3 separate regions of the Homo sapiens genome follow, and regions 1 and 3 are each linked to region 2. Evidence: promoter capture Hi-C in 16 types of primary human blood cells and fetal thymus (Javierre and others, 2016). All regions are on one chromosome and are shown on one strand. The core of a region is centred on a gene start or on the middle of the fragment in contact, and the rest is flanking DNA. Distances in the headings are between cores, read along the strand shown.

Region 1 (4,385 bases), core at 1,088-3,587, 1.5 Mb before region 2:
TTATCCCTTCCACTCCCCCTCTCATATGCACTGCATTCATGAGGAAAGGGCCCAAAGGCCATGCATGGAAAAGAAATGGGGAATGAGTGGGAGCTCTGTTGTGGGGGCTGAAGGAAGCAGAGATGAGGGACATCTGTGAAGTAGAATAGAATGGCATGGAGTTCTCTGGGATTCCATAAAGGTTTGCCTGCTTTCCAAAGTGCAAACCACAAATCTAGAGTTCTACGCATGTGGCTTGTTGGAGCTTCCCTGTGAAACCGTAACCATGGTTTCAGGCAGACTACATCACAGCCATGAGCACAAAAACAACAGGCTCTCTCTTATTTTTCCCTAAAACTCCGTGTCCTTGAAAAAAATATGTAAGGTGATATGCCAAAGTGATCCATGTGCAACCTCTGACCTCTAGGACATTCATGAAGTTAGCTGGTTTTCAATAGAAAGCAATTGCTCTACACCACTTTTGAGGCTTAGATAGCTCTCTCACTTTTTGTGTAGACCAAAGAACCCTGAAAACATATACCTCCAGAGGAACGCTTGTACTTGCTGGAAACATGTAACAAACCTGAAAACACAAAAATCCACATCCTAAATTAATACCTTCCTTCCAAGAAGAGAGAAAAAAAAAAAAAAAAAAAAAAAAACAACCCAAAAACAAACACAAAAAGCAAAATGAAGGTTTGCTTCTCTCTGCTTGTCCAAGTGCCAAGACTGGATGCATTTGGTTTATAGTAGATTGAGACAAGACCTCTTTCCAAATCCTTAATAGTTTAATAATGGAATCAATTAACAACTCAATCTCATACTTAGAAATCGTCTTTTATTGCACAGTATCTTGACAATCAAAACAGAGAAACAATATAACTTTAAATAAGATTCAAAGCACTGACTTCCAATTACCCACAAGCAGAACCCTTCTTAAAATGCAACATTCATTCTGCATGGATGGGCAATGAATTGGACAAAACAAGCTCGACTGATGTTTCTGGGACCATAGAGGAGACATCCTGGAGGAGAACACATTTTTTCTACTTGTATGTCAGAAGATGAGCTAACCACCATGCAAGAGAATAGAAACAAGCCAGCTTCCTCTCGGAGGGAAAAATAAAGCAACTCCTCGCTCGGCTAAGCAGGACAAAGCCAGGACGTGCAAGAAGCCTTCAGTCAAAGGCTCCACGTGCCTTTCCAAGGACGGAGGGACCCACCCACACACAATCACACACAGCCAGCCCACCACGCGCCTGCGGAAGAAAGCCGGGTCCTCGGCCAACCTTCAGCACCAGTGGCCCAGGCTCTCCCAGTTTGCAAACCTCCCGCAGCACCCACCAACTGGAGGGCACAGAGGGAGCAGAGGGCCACATCCTCTTTCCAAGTCTCATCTTCCTCGCCAATGCCTGTTTCTCCCCAACTATGAAGTGAAGTGTACCTCCCCAAGGAAACTGAGACTTACAGGCACACACACCCCAGTCGTCAATAAGTCCCGGAGCCCTACGATCAAGACCAGCGAGTCTTTCCCCGGGACCCCACAACCGGGTTCCCGGAATGACGGGGAGGCGCCGCACTCACCCAGTCCTCGAAGTGGCGGCTCCCGTTCTGCAGCAGCTCCTCAAACTGGATGGTGCAGTTGGCCACGAAGTCGTCGTAGCCTATGGGGGCATCGTGAAAGACAGCCAGCTCGATCTTGCGTCCGTTGCACACATCGGTGACGAACTCGTCGTGCCAGGCCGGGCTGTTGGTCTTCTGCTTGGTGGCCGTTTGGCCGATGCGCGAGTCGTCCACATTGAGGGCAATGTAGGGGTCGAGAAGGAAAGTCTGCGGCCGGGGTCCCACCGCATGGCGCAGCGACCAGGCTGTGGGCTTCAAGCTCACGGCCTCGCAGATTTTGATCTTAAGAAGGCCATTGAACACTACCATGGTCGGGGCGGGGAGTGGGGGCCGGGGTCACTCCGTCTGCCCCGAGGGCAGGAATGAAGAACCGACGGCCCGGCACTCCGAGCCACAGGGACTCTTGGGTCCCCTTTCGCCCCACCCCGCACACTCCCTACACCTTGTGGCGTTGCGCCCTGGCGCGGGCGATTCTCAGCCAGTGCATGTATTTCCTCGCCGGGTTCCTAACGGAAAACAGGGAGGGGGGAGAGCTGGGGGATGTCCGTGTTTGGAGCAAGTCTCTCCCCCCGACCACCAGCTGCACCTCCAGAAGAGAAGACGAGCTGTCGGCTCCGCTGCAAGCCGCGGGGGCTGCCTCGCCGCCTCGCTGGCTCTCCGGCTCCGGACTGCGGGAAAGCGGGCGCCGCGCCCGGCGCTTACCTACCTTTCCGAAACATAATCCCGGGAAATTTCGACTCCGGGAGGGGGATGGGGCGGTGGGACGGGGCGGGGACGAGAACCGGGGGCGCAGATTTCAACCCGGATCCTCTTCGCACACTCAGCGCCTGCCTCTGACCGCGCGGGGCGGGGGGGTGAACGGAGGGATGTTCAGTCTATCCGGAGGGATGCATGTCGAGAGGAAATGGTCCTCCTCGGAGCCAAATTTTTAAAAATCCACAAGCCCCACGGCCAGCCGGGGCCGCCGCCTCCTGGGCGAAGCAGCGCCGCGCCGGAGCCGGCGATCGGGAGGCGCCAGGAGCCCGGAATCTCACATCCGCGCGGGCTCGGAGTCCGGGCGGCCGCCGATCCGGCTCGGGGGCGCAGGCCAGCACCGGGCGGTGCGCAGCGCGGCGGCGGGGCAGGGACTGCGACTCAGCGCGGCCCCACCTCCTGGGCGCCGGCGCCCGCCCTCCGCGCTCCCCGCGTCCCCGCTCTCGGCTGCCGCTCGCTCGCCGCCCGCCAGCCCGCGCTCCCCCGCGGTCTCCTCTCCCTCTGTCGGTGTGCGAGCGAGTCTCCCTCCCTCTAATGCAGGAAATGCGCAAAAGACGTCAGTGTGTGTGAGTGTGTGTGTGTGAGTGTGTGTGTGTGCACGCGCGCGCGCGCACGGCAGTGTTTGGGGAAATAGAAAGTTTTGCCGGTTGGGGGAGCAATACGGAAAAAGTGAGCCGAGGAGACAACGGTGGAGAGCTGGCGAGGCTGCCCGGGGTCGCAGCGGCGGGCGGGTCAGCCGGGGGGCGGGGACCCCGCGCGGGACCCCGGGGTGCGGCGGCGCTGGGCTGGATGCGCGTGCCGGGGGCCGTGGATGGCCATGGATGGGCCCCGCCGGGCCGCGTATCTCTCGGGGACCCTGCGGCCAACACTGTCTTTTAGAGCCGGGGATGGGGGAGTGGAGGGGGCCCTGTTGCCCTAGAGGCCTCGGGACCCTTCCCTTGCCCACCCCCACTCGGGCCGCGGCGGGCAGGAGCAGTCTGCGGAGTTCTGGCCCATCTGTCACTCTGTCCCGGGACGCTGTGATCCACGGCGGTGGGGGAGGGGGAAGGGGGAGGGACAAGCATGGCTCGGGTGAAGTTTTAAACTCTGTTCTTCTCTCTTGCCTTTCTTTGGGGACATTCTCCCCTTTGGGATCTGTCCTGGACTTCGCAGGCTGCGAGAACTTGTTGACAAGTGAAAGCTCGGTAGAGCCCCGGCTTGGTTTGTGGTCTGCTTATTTTTTGCAAAGTGACTGTTCCTGTTTGCGCTGGTCCTTATCGGTGCCCCTTTGGGGGACTTCGGCACTGATCAGCGCGCTGACAGCCGCCGTCCGGGCTGCGGGAAAATGGGGCGCGCCCTCCGGGGGGCGAGTGGCTGTGTCCTTGCTAATTTCCTCCGTAACCTTTAAACTCTCGCTGGAAGCTACCGCCGCGGCTGGTCACGTGAGGAGAGCCCTGGGCTGCTGGGGAAAAATTTCCTCGGCTGGGAGCCGGGACCGGGCCGGCGGCCGGCGAGGGACTGCCCCGCGCCCGAGACTGGGAACCTGGGAGGGCAGGGCCGGAGCGCTGGGCCCCGGGGCGCGGCCCAGCTGGGACACCCGCGAAGACGGCGGCGGTGAAGAGGTCGGCTCCGCTGCCGGGGAGCTGGGGATTATGCAAATGGGGAAAGAAAACCTCCGCCCTCGCCCTTCTGCCAAGTCAAGTCTGGGAATTTGTAGGTATTGTGGTAAGCTGAGTGTTCATCTGGCGGGTCTGGTTAGTGTAAACCAAAATTTAAAACGCGCCTCCCGATCACTTTTTCCTCAGTGGGTAAAGGTTATCATTGCCTGCGGCTTAAAAGCCTAAAAAGGCTTAAAGGCGAGGAAGGAGGCAGTCCCCTGGAAAAACAGGATATCAAGTGCAGCAAACACGTCCCAAAAATGATCCGAAAAGTTCTAGGGCCATCTCCTAAGAACAGGCAAAGCCTTTGCCTGCAACCGCTCTGGAGCTTCCTAATACAGTAATTTCTCGCAGCCTGCCCTGTTGAACAGGGCAGCTGGGTAGAGATGGTGC
Region 2 (4,277 bases), core at 1,717-4,216:
TTTTTTTTTTTGAGACAGAGTCTTACTCTGGCACCCAGGCTAGAGTGCAGTGGCACAATCTCGGCTCACTGCAACCTCCACCTCGTGAGTCCAAGTGATTCTCCTGCCTCATCCTCCTGAGTAGCTGGGATTACAAGCACGCGCCACCGCACCTGGCTAATTTTTGTATTTTCAGTAGAGATGGTGTTTCACCATGTTGGCCAGGCTGGTCATGAACTCCTAACCTCAAGTGATCCACACGCCTCAGCCTCCCAAAGTGCTGAGATTACAGGCATGAGCCACCGCACCTGGCCTATATAGCCTCTTTTTAATGAATCACCACAATCACTAAGTGATACCGTGGCCAATTCTAAGCTTCCAAGACTGCCAAGACATAATCAGCATCATATTTTAATTCAAAAGATTCCATAAAAAATGTTTGTTATAGAAAAGATAACTTTCAACAAGAGCCACTTTTTCTGACCCTGTCAACCTGTGAATCAGCTGTTCTTAGAAGCACAGTTACTTGGACACTACACTATTCCTTCAGATGATGTAATCTTAAGGAATTTAGTAATTAGGTGAATTACTAACATAAAACAGTATTTACTGACATGACTAAATTGAAAGGCCTTTCACCTATTCCTAGAGTCTTCACAGAAATCAGACACCCAGTGTAAGAAAACGGTGTTGAAAGCTCTGCTGGTCACTTCAAAGAGAACAATCACTTCAACAAATCCAGAGGATAATGTACTAGAAACTGGGGAAATCTTACAGTATGAAAGCTCAAATAAAAATACTCGTGCTAATATACAGCAACAAAAAGAACCACTGCAGAAACTGTTGTAAGACTTCATGAGAGCAAAAACAAATGAAGAGGCGAAAACACAACAACCATTAAGACAAAAAAAAAGACAAAGAAGGCATTGAGAGAAGAAGCACAAAATAAAGATTATCCCTGAAAATGTGTGGACTAAAATATTCTGTTCTAAATACTTAATTTTAAAATTTCGATTAGAACAACACACTGTCCATTTGGCAGACCTACAAAAACATTTCCTTAAAAAATTACCATTACTTCAACTATATTTTTAAAAGGCCTGTACACTTGGAAAAGACTATCATAATAATTAGAATAACTTGTCTCACTATTTACTTAGAAATGCCCCATTTAAAAGTAGGCCAACAATAGGAACTTTGCTATTGCACAACAGAGAAAGTAAATGAAATAACATCTATTAACATTCAGCGTCCATGGCATGTTTCTCCATCTCCTAGAACATACTGTGACTTACACTGTCTACTCTGAACAATTTACCACTTCTTCATCCATGCAGTAGCTCAAATAAAGACAGTTCCTGTGTTAATCCCACAGTAAGCCTCAGTAATTCTCACATCACCGTAGTTGTAAACGTTTGTTAACAGAAAAAGAATGTTTTTCCTAAAATAGCTACATAACACTAAGACTACTCAAATTCCTAAATAATCCTTTTACAACATGCCTGCCAACTTTATTTTGATACATTAAACATGTGGAGCCTATTTTAAAAGCTCTTTAACTGTGACTATCAAAACAACTTCCCAGTTATTAACGTCTCTTTTTAAAAAAGTTTTCAAGTTGTTCTTAGAAGAAATTGAATATTGATGAATTTGGGCTGCTATCAAACGCCTAAGAAGCACTTTTTTTGCCGAATAAGATGGGCAAACGTCCCAGATCTGCTAAATCTGATATGAGAGGTCATGCAAGTTTAAAAAATGAAGAAATAACTATTTCCAACACTCACTGAGTCCTTCATTTAAAAAATTATTTTCGGTGTTATTTTCACACTTTACGTTTAATAATACAATTTTTTCAAGGTTGTTAGGCTTAAACTATGAAAAACTGATTTACCACATATGGCTAGTCAGTCTATACTCTTAATGGGGCTCCGGTAGATTTGGGGTACTGACAATAAGTGGCAGTTTCAATTAAGAACTTCACTGTTAGGAATGACATCCGAAAAGGATGGTGCTAGGGAAGACAGGCAAGAGATGCCGGGGTACGAAGAAAAGAGAAACACACAATTTAAAGCCACTAAGGAGGGAAGGCGAGGGTAGAACGCATAGACAGCAGAGAAAGACGATTTAACAAGGAAGTGAAGTGGAGCGCAGAGTAGGGCAGAAGCTGATGAGGAAACGAATGGTAAAAGATAGTGTTTTCAAACAGGGCATGCACCAGGAAGAGAAGCGCCAAGGCTTGGGGTAGCCCCAGTGCTTTCGTGTGAAAGAGATGCTTGCAGACTGAAGCGGAGGGAAGAGAGAATCAGTCAGCTTCCAGGCGTTCCAGCAAACTCCCATTCTCTCCCTGCGCCTCTCCCAGACCTCAGCCCAGCGGAGGCGGCGGCCGGGGAAGGGGCCTATACCCGAGAGCCAGGCCCGGCGTTCCCCTGCCTAGGCTCCGCGGCAGCAGGGAAAGCAGCGAGGATTCGGAAGGACAGAGGCCCCGGCCGCGGCTCGGCAGCACCGCGAAAACCTGCCCAGGGCCCGGGGCCTCGGCGGCGCGGCCGGTCAGCCGCTTCCCCTCCGGCGGGGTGCCGGGCGGCCTTACCTGAGGCAAGGGAGGGAGAAGATGTCTAGGGCGCCTCGCTCGCGCCCGCCGCGGTACTCAGCCCAAGTTTCCAACGGAGGCGCGACCCTGACTCAGCCGCCGCTTCCCCCTCGGGGTCTCGACCGCCGCCTCCGGGGCTGTTTACACCGCCCGGCCCCTCACGCCGCCGCCGCCGCCGATGCCGCCTTCTCTCCACCCTAGCGCCGTTGCCGATTCGGCCGCCGCCACCTCCTCCGCCGCAGCCTCGTCTCTCTGGAGCATCTTCCAACCACCGAACCCTGAGAATCAGAGACTCCAGCCGCGCCGGCAGGAAACTCCCCCGCAACTGCTAGGGGAACGAGGCCGTCAGAGCACCGGCGGCTTTTCCGCCATTGAGCAGAAGCCGCTCGGCTCCTTTTGCAACCCCCTCCCCGCACCCTAGTCCTTCCCCGCCCCTCAGGGTGCCCCGCCTCCAGCTGCCACCCACTGGGATGCCGCGCGCCCTCTCACGGCCCCCGGTTTGCTGGGAGTCTTGTCAATCACCGCTCCCCCTCCCCGTGCTGCTCCCTCGGCACCTCCGTACTTCGTTTACCCCGCCCACCCGGCCCCGCCTCTGGGTTTCTAATTTCCCATTGGGCATCAGTGGCTACTTTCAATAGGCAAGGTCAGCTGTCCATCAAACACCGCCCACTAAGTGAGACCCAACCCTTTATTACCATTTACTTTATTCGGCCCCGCCTCCGCTAGGTCCTACCTCCCGAACGTCAGGGACCAGCCCCCGCTACCAGCCATAAGTAGAGCCCTCCGTCAATCAAATAACGCCCACCTGCGCTCCTCCTAGCAAAGCCCCGGCCCCAGCGATTGTCTTTTCTTATTGGTCCAACTCGTGATCCGAACCCCCAGTCACTGGCTTTCTTGCGGGTCAGTCACTGAGCCAATTTCCAAGTCCGTCACACCGGCTTTTTTCAAATGAACGCGCAAAAGGCGGGGAAGTATCTGGAAAGCGATTGGTTCGTCCTAGAAAACGGTCAAACCCGGAGAGTCTGTACGGATCCTTTCCGTTCTGTGAGGACCGTGCCCCCTTGTATTTGACCTCTAAGCCTCGCGTAAAAGAAGCGCCATAAGGGACCAACGAGCAGTCCAGCTATAGGTGTGGACGCCTGGTCCCACCCGGAATTGCAGGGGCTTGGCTACTGATTGGCTAAGAAAGTCCTCCTAGGCCCTCATTGGAGGATCTAAACGCCTCTCTTCGGCGTGGAGACGGGAAGGGACGACTCAGACGAGGACAAGAAGTGGGCAGGGGAGAGGCGGTTGTTTTGCTTCAGCCGCGGGTGGGGCGCAGGCGAGAGTGGGAAACTGGGAAGGCCGGGCTCTGGGGAGGTGTTGCGGGGAGGGGAAAGGCCCGGATGTTCCCTAACAATGAAATCATCGCCGACCTATCAGAGCCGCCGAGCTGGGATACCTGCCTGACCTGTACCCCGGAGGGAGAAGAGTGGGCGGGAAATTGGGGTGTCGGAAGAACCTGGAAAGCAACGTGAGAAAGTGGGACAGGTGTTCCCTTCAGGAGGATTTTGTGCTATTAGAGATTATTTTTATACCAGCCCTTGACATTTCCGTATTTTGTTTCTCAGTCGGCATTGATATTAAAACTCCCAGCCTAGTCTCTTGACATGGACTTGTTCATTTCGCAGTTATTGAGCGCCTACTGTTTGCCAGGTACTGTATGTAGAAC
Region 3 (4,311 bases), core at 1,554-4,053, 1.4 Mb before region 2:
GGGAGAAGGTGGAGAGGGGAGGAAAATTTGTTTTTACTTTAGACATGTTTTTGGGTCCAGGAGTTAGTCTACTATATTATTGAGTACCTATTATATGTTAAGCATTATTAGGCACTGTGTAGGTGGAGGGAGAAGTTGGAGAGGGGGAGATAAAAAATTACCAAGAGTTAGTTCCTAGATCCAAATATCTATTAGTAGGTGAAACAGTTGCATCTATTAATATATTAAGAATTTTTGTTCTTATGAAACTTAGTTTGAGGCCAATAGAGAGAATAGCTTTGTTATGTTTCAGGTGGTTAGACAGTACTTTATTTAGAGTATTTAGAGATTCGACAGTTCTGGAGCACCTTAAACATTGAGAGTCTCACTGGCCACCATAGTGGAGCGAGAAAAGGTCTTTGCTTTGAGTTTGTGGTACAGCTGGCCATCTGTATCTGCATTCATGGATATGGAACCTGCAGATGTGGTGGGCCAACTTTTTCTATCACTGATTGGTTGAGTATCTGTAAATTTTGCTATCTGTGGGGGGTCCTCAGACCAATCCCCTGTGGATAGACAGCAAATTGTATGTGGATACCTTTCAGAGTACTTGCTTTGGAGTAAAGCAGATTATTGGATTTGAATCTCAGATCTACAATTTATTAGCTGATGTGACCTTAGATGAATTATTTAACTTCTTTATACCTGGTATTCTCATTTATAAAAATGGTTTAATAGCAATATTGCATTGGGGTAATATGTGAATTATATACATAAATACATCTAAAAGCATTAACTTAGTGCCTGGCACAGGTAAGTAATCAATAAAGGTAAGTTATTACTATTATTATTACATTTGCCCTGGGGAGCTAGAACCCATAGGGGAAGGACTTGAAAACAGATAATAACATACAAATGATAATGTATCAGTGAATATCATGGGAAGAGCTATATACTTTGGAGGGATAAAACAACCTCCATCAAATCCAAAACATGTTTTCATTACTCCCAAACCCTATTGCATAGTCTCAGGTGGGTGTCCGGATTATTCCAGGCTTTCAGTCTAAACCCATGAATTTCTTGGAATTCAGCACTTGAGATCCAAAAGTAAACAATAGATTGGGCAATGTCCTAGACAGAAAAGGCAGTTTTTGTGGGAGGGCCTGTTTTATACTTAAGTGATTACAAATTTTCCTTGACAGCGTGTAGTGGGAGTGACTCTCTTATAGAATTCCAAGGGAAATATTCTCTGGACAGTCCTTATTGGCCTTTAGAGTAGGCCACTACCTACATACTTTAATTTTAGAGAACCTGCTTCAGATTTTATTTTCCCCAGATGTCTGATGTCTAAAATCTTAACAGGCTATTTATTTTTGTGATTTTTTTTTTCTTCCCCAGCTGTAAGGCAAAAATCCCTTGTGGGGAGAGGAAAGTCAAGCTTCAATGCTTTGCTGGCCCACTCTTACTCTCCTCCTCACTGTAGTGTGGCTACTACCTGCATACCCAACCCTTGAAGCTAGACTGTTTTGCTTGGGTGTCTGTTTCCTCTGGCTGTATCTGGTTCCTACTCTTGGTCGTAAATTCCTCCAGGGCAGGACTTATGTCAAAAGACTTTGCAGTATATTAGTTCACCTTTACCCTTACTACCTCTGCAATGATTGGAATGTCCCCTTCAAAAATTCAAGTTGAAACTTGTCATTGTAATAGTATGAAGAGGTGGGACCTTTAGGAAATGATTAGGTCATGAATGAGTTAATTCCATTATCACAGGAGGGTTAGTTATTTCGGGAGTCAATTGGGTTCACATGCCTCCCCCACCCCTACCCCAGTATGATGCCCTCCATCATATTTTGACACAACAATAATGCCCTCTGTCTTGGACTTCCCAGCCTTCAGAACTACAAGCCAAACAAATCTCTTTCTTTATAAATCTACCAGTCTATGGTATTTGGTTACAGCAGCAGAAAATTGACCAAGACAACCCCTTACCATAAACCTGAGTAGCAAATGCAACATCAAAAGTAGGTGAATAGTAAGTAGTACATTATTGTTGTTGATTTCTATGATCTGGTTTCTCTTCCCACAATCCTGAACGGTAAGGTGTTCTCTAGTATTTCTTCAGGACCATAAATTGTGAAGGAGACTGTGATTGTAGTAGACAATTCTAGGCCTTCTGGAACCATCACTAAAGGCAACATACGACTGTGCTAATTAAAAGGAAAAAAAAATCCCTAAACAATCTCGGAAACTGATCTTTCCTGGCCAACAATCTCAGATATAGAAGATTAGATTTACTAAATTTAGAAAGAATCCTTTTTTTTTTCCCCCAATCACAAAAATTATCCAGTAAAATCTATGCTCACTTCCGGTAGATCTGCAACAAGGCACGGTCACAGGTCATTTCAATAACTTGCTAGGCTCTTCAGTACTCAGAGTCCCTGGAAATAAGTCATTAGCAGTGGAAAGCTGCTTTTTAGAATTTTCTAAAACAAATCCATGGGGTTTTGATCTGCTAAATTCGAATGTAGACAACAGCAGCCTTATTTCCCTACTTTTATAATCTAATTTATTTGGCTGTATCTGTGGGCTTAAGAGTTTAGTGTTCTTGGTAAATAACACGTAAAAAAAAAGTCATTTTTCATTTCTACGAACCAGCCCCACCCCGGCGCTCCCTCGGGATCCTCGCTCTAGCCCCGCCTCCGTCCAGCCTGGCTCCGCCCCGTTCGGTAGCGCCGCGCCTTGGAGGTCTGTGGCTAACTTGGTCCGGAAGAAGCGAGGCGGACCTTCTGGCGTTTGAAAAACTTCCGGCGGGAACCGGAAGGTGCGGTGGCACTCACGGAATCTCGGGTCTTCTGACGTGCCGGGCGGGAAGGTGAGCTGTGCGTGCGCCTTGGCGGTCGTCTTGCGGGTTCTCAAGAGCCCGGCGTCCGGGCTCCGGGATCTTTGGGGCCATTAAAAAAGTTCTGAGCGCTCATTTGGGCAATAACACCCCTTTTTTAAAAGTGAGAAGTTCATTACATTTTACTGTCAGCGGTCTCTCACAACCGACCACCCGAAAACCCCTCCTAGCTACCTCGTGACACCTCTTTTCAGCCAAATTGCTGCAGCTCTTAGCGCATAACAGACATAGAAAAGCCTGGGCAAGCCTGTTTTTTTTTTTTTTGAGACGGAGTCTCCCTCTGTCGCCCAGGCTGGAGTGTAGTGGAGCGATCTCGGCTCACTGCAAGCTCCGCCTCCCGGATTCACGCCATTCGCCTGCCTCAGCCTCCCGAGTAGCTGGGGCTACAGGCGCCCGTCATCACACCCGGCTAATTTACCTGGATTGTTTTTATACCTAAAATTATCGGAGGTGGGAGAGGAAGCACCCTTTTCACGGTCATGGTGGCCCTGTCTGAATCAACTGCACCTTCTGTAGTGCGCCTGGCATGTAGGAGGCGCTCAGTAACCGGAGGAAAGGAATGAATTGGGAACTCTCTAGGCAACTTTCCTCGAACCCCTCACGTGACATGTCATTAACATATTGTGTGTGGAATGGGAAACGAGACTAGTCTTGGTGTTCCAGGCACTGGGCTATAGTCCTTTGCCACATATCTTTCCCCTTTGAGTAAACTGTTTCACCTCATTGGGTCTCAGATTTCTGAATATAGCGGGACTGTCTGATCTCAGGTTCTTTCAGCTCTAGTATTTTGTTTTTGTGACTTGGGAATCTGCTAACATTCAAGCACTCTGTTGGTCCTTCATGGAAACTTGTTTAGGTGCTTCTTAAGAAATTGTCCTCCTTTGTTTGCCTTCTTGAATTTAAATTTTTTTTTCCAATTTTAATTTAGTATTTGTTAGTGTGCACGTCCTTTTGCCCCTTTGTCCTGATTTGCAGTCGTCCTAGTTTAGTGGCTCTTCCCTTAGTAACATCATAGCAACCTCCAAATTATTGGTTTGGAATATGCTCATGTGCCTACAGTGATTAAGATAGTTTGAAAGGAGGGAAAAATCCCAAGTCACTGAAGAATAGGAATATTCTTATGTGCCATCACTTCTTCAGAAAGAGATGAATGCAATGTGTGGCATTGCCTAAGAGTGGTGGAAAATAAATGTATATTCCTCTGTAGAGACCATATTTGTACATATTATGTTCATTTAATAGTTGTAGGGCATCTGTTAAGTGCTAGGTTCTATGATATGGAAGTGAATAAGGCACATGCATTTCCTTCTTTCATGGTATTTACTCTCTTGACAGCAGTGCAAGCAATAAACAAGTAAAATAAAAATAATTACAGATTGTGTTATAACCTACTGTATACAGGAAGTAAATAGGCTCCTTTTAAAATATAATTG

What was found. The method cuts DNA at HindIII sites, captures the fragments that hold promoters and counts their contacts. A CHiCAGO score of 5 or more calls a contact.
Region 1: a contact is called between the fragment with the promoter of PRKCE here and the fragment with the promoter of PPM1B in region 2, in 1 of 17 cell types (fetal thymus). The highest score is 5.0, in fetal thymus.
Region 3: the fragment with the promoter of SRBD1 here is called in contact with the fragment with the promoter of PPM1B in region 2 in 8 of 17 cell types (fetal thymus, monocytes, total CD8 T cells and 5 more); the score reaches 14.6 in fetal thymus.

What each region holds. Positions count from the first base shown.
Region 1 is chr2:45,649,627-45,654,011 of GRCh38, reverse strand. PRKCE (protein kinase C epsilon) reads right to left here and starts at 2,337. Exons shown (of 15, transcript NM_005400.3): 1 at 1,564-2,337. The coding sequence starts at 1,911. It overlaps LOC102724965 (a long non-coding RNA gene), which reads left to right and starts at 2,797. Exons shown (of 2, transcript XR_005647119.2): 1 at 2,797-4,047. RefSeq lists enhancers at 1,659-2,279, 2,768-3,062 and silencers at 2,438-2,907, 3,078-3,177, 3,808-3,907. The HindIII fragment of the contact is 7,889 bases long and covers 1-4,385 here.
Region 2 is chr2:44,167,564-44,171,840 of GRCh38, reverse strand. It overlaps PPM1B (protein phosphatase, Mg2+/Mn2+ dependent 1B), which reads right to left and starts at 2,966. Exons shown (of 6, transcript NM_002706.6): 1 at 2,567-2,966. PPM1B-DT (PPM1B divergent transcript) reads left to right here and starts at 3,049. Exons shown (of 2, transcript XR_940034.3): 1 at 3,049-4,277. RefSeq lists silencers at 2,406-2,615, 2,936-3,265. The HindIII fragment of the contact is 4,313 bases long and covers 357-4,277 here.
Region 3 is chr2:45,609,759-45,614,069 of GRCh38, reverse strand. SRBD1 (S1 RNA binding domain 1) reads left to right here and starts at 2,803. Exons shown (of 21, transcript NM_018079.5): 1 at 2,803-2,851. RefSeq lists an enhancer at 2,983-3,152. The HindIII fragment of the contact is 4,677 bases long and covers 1,420-4,311 here.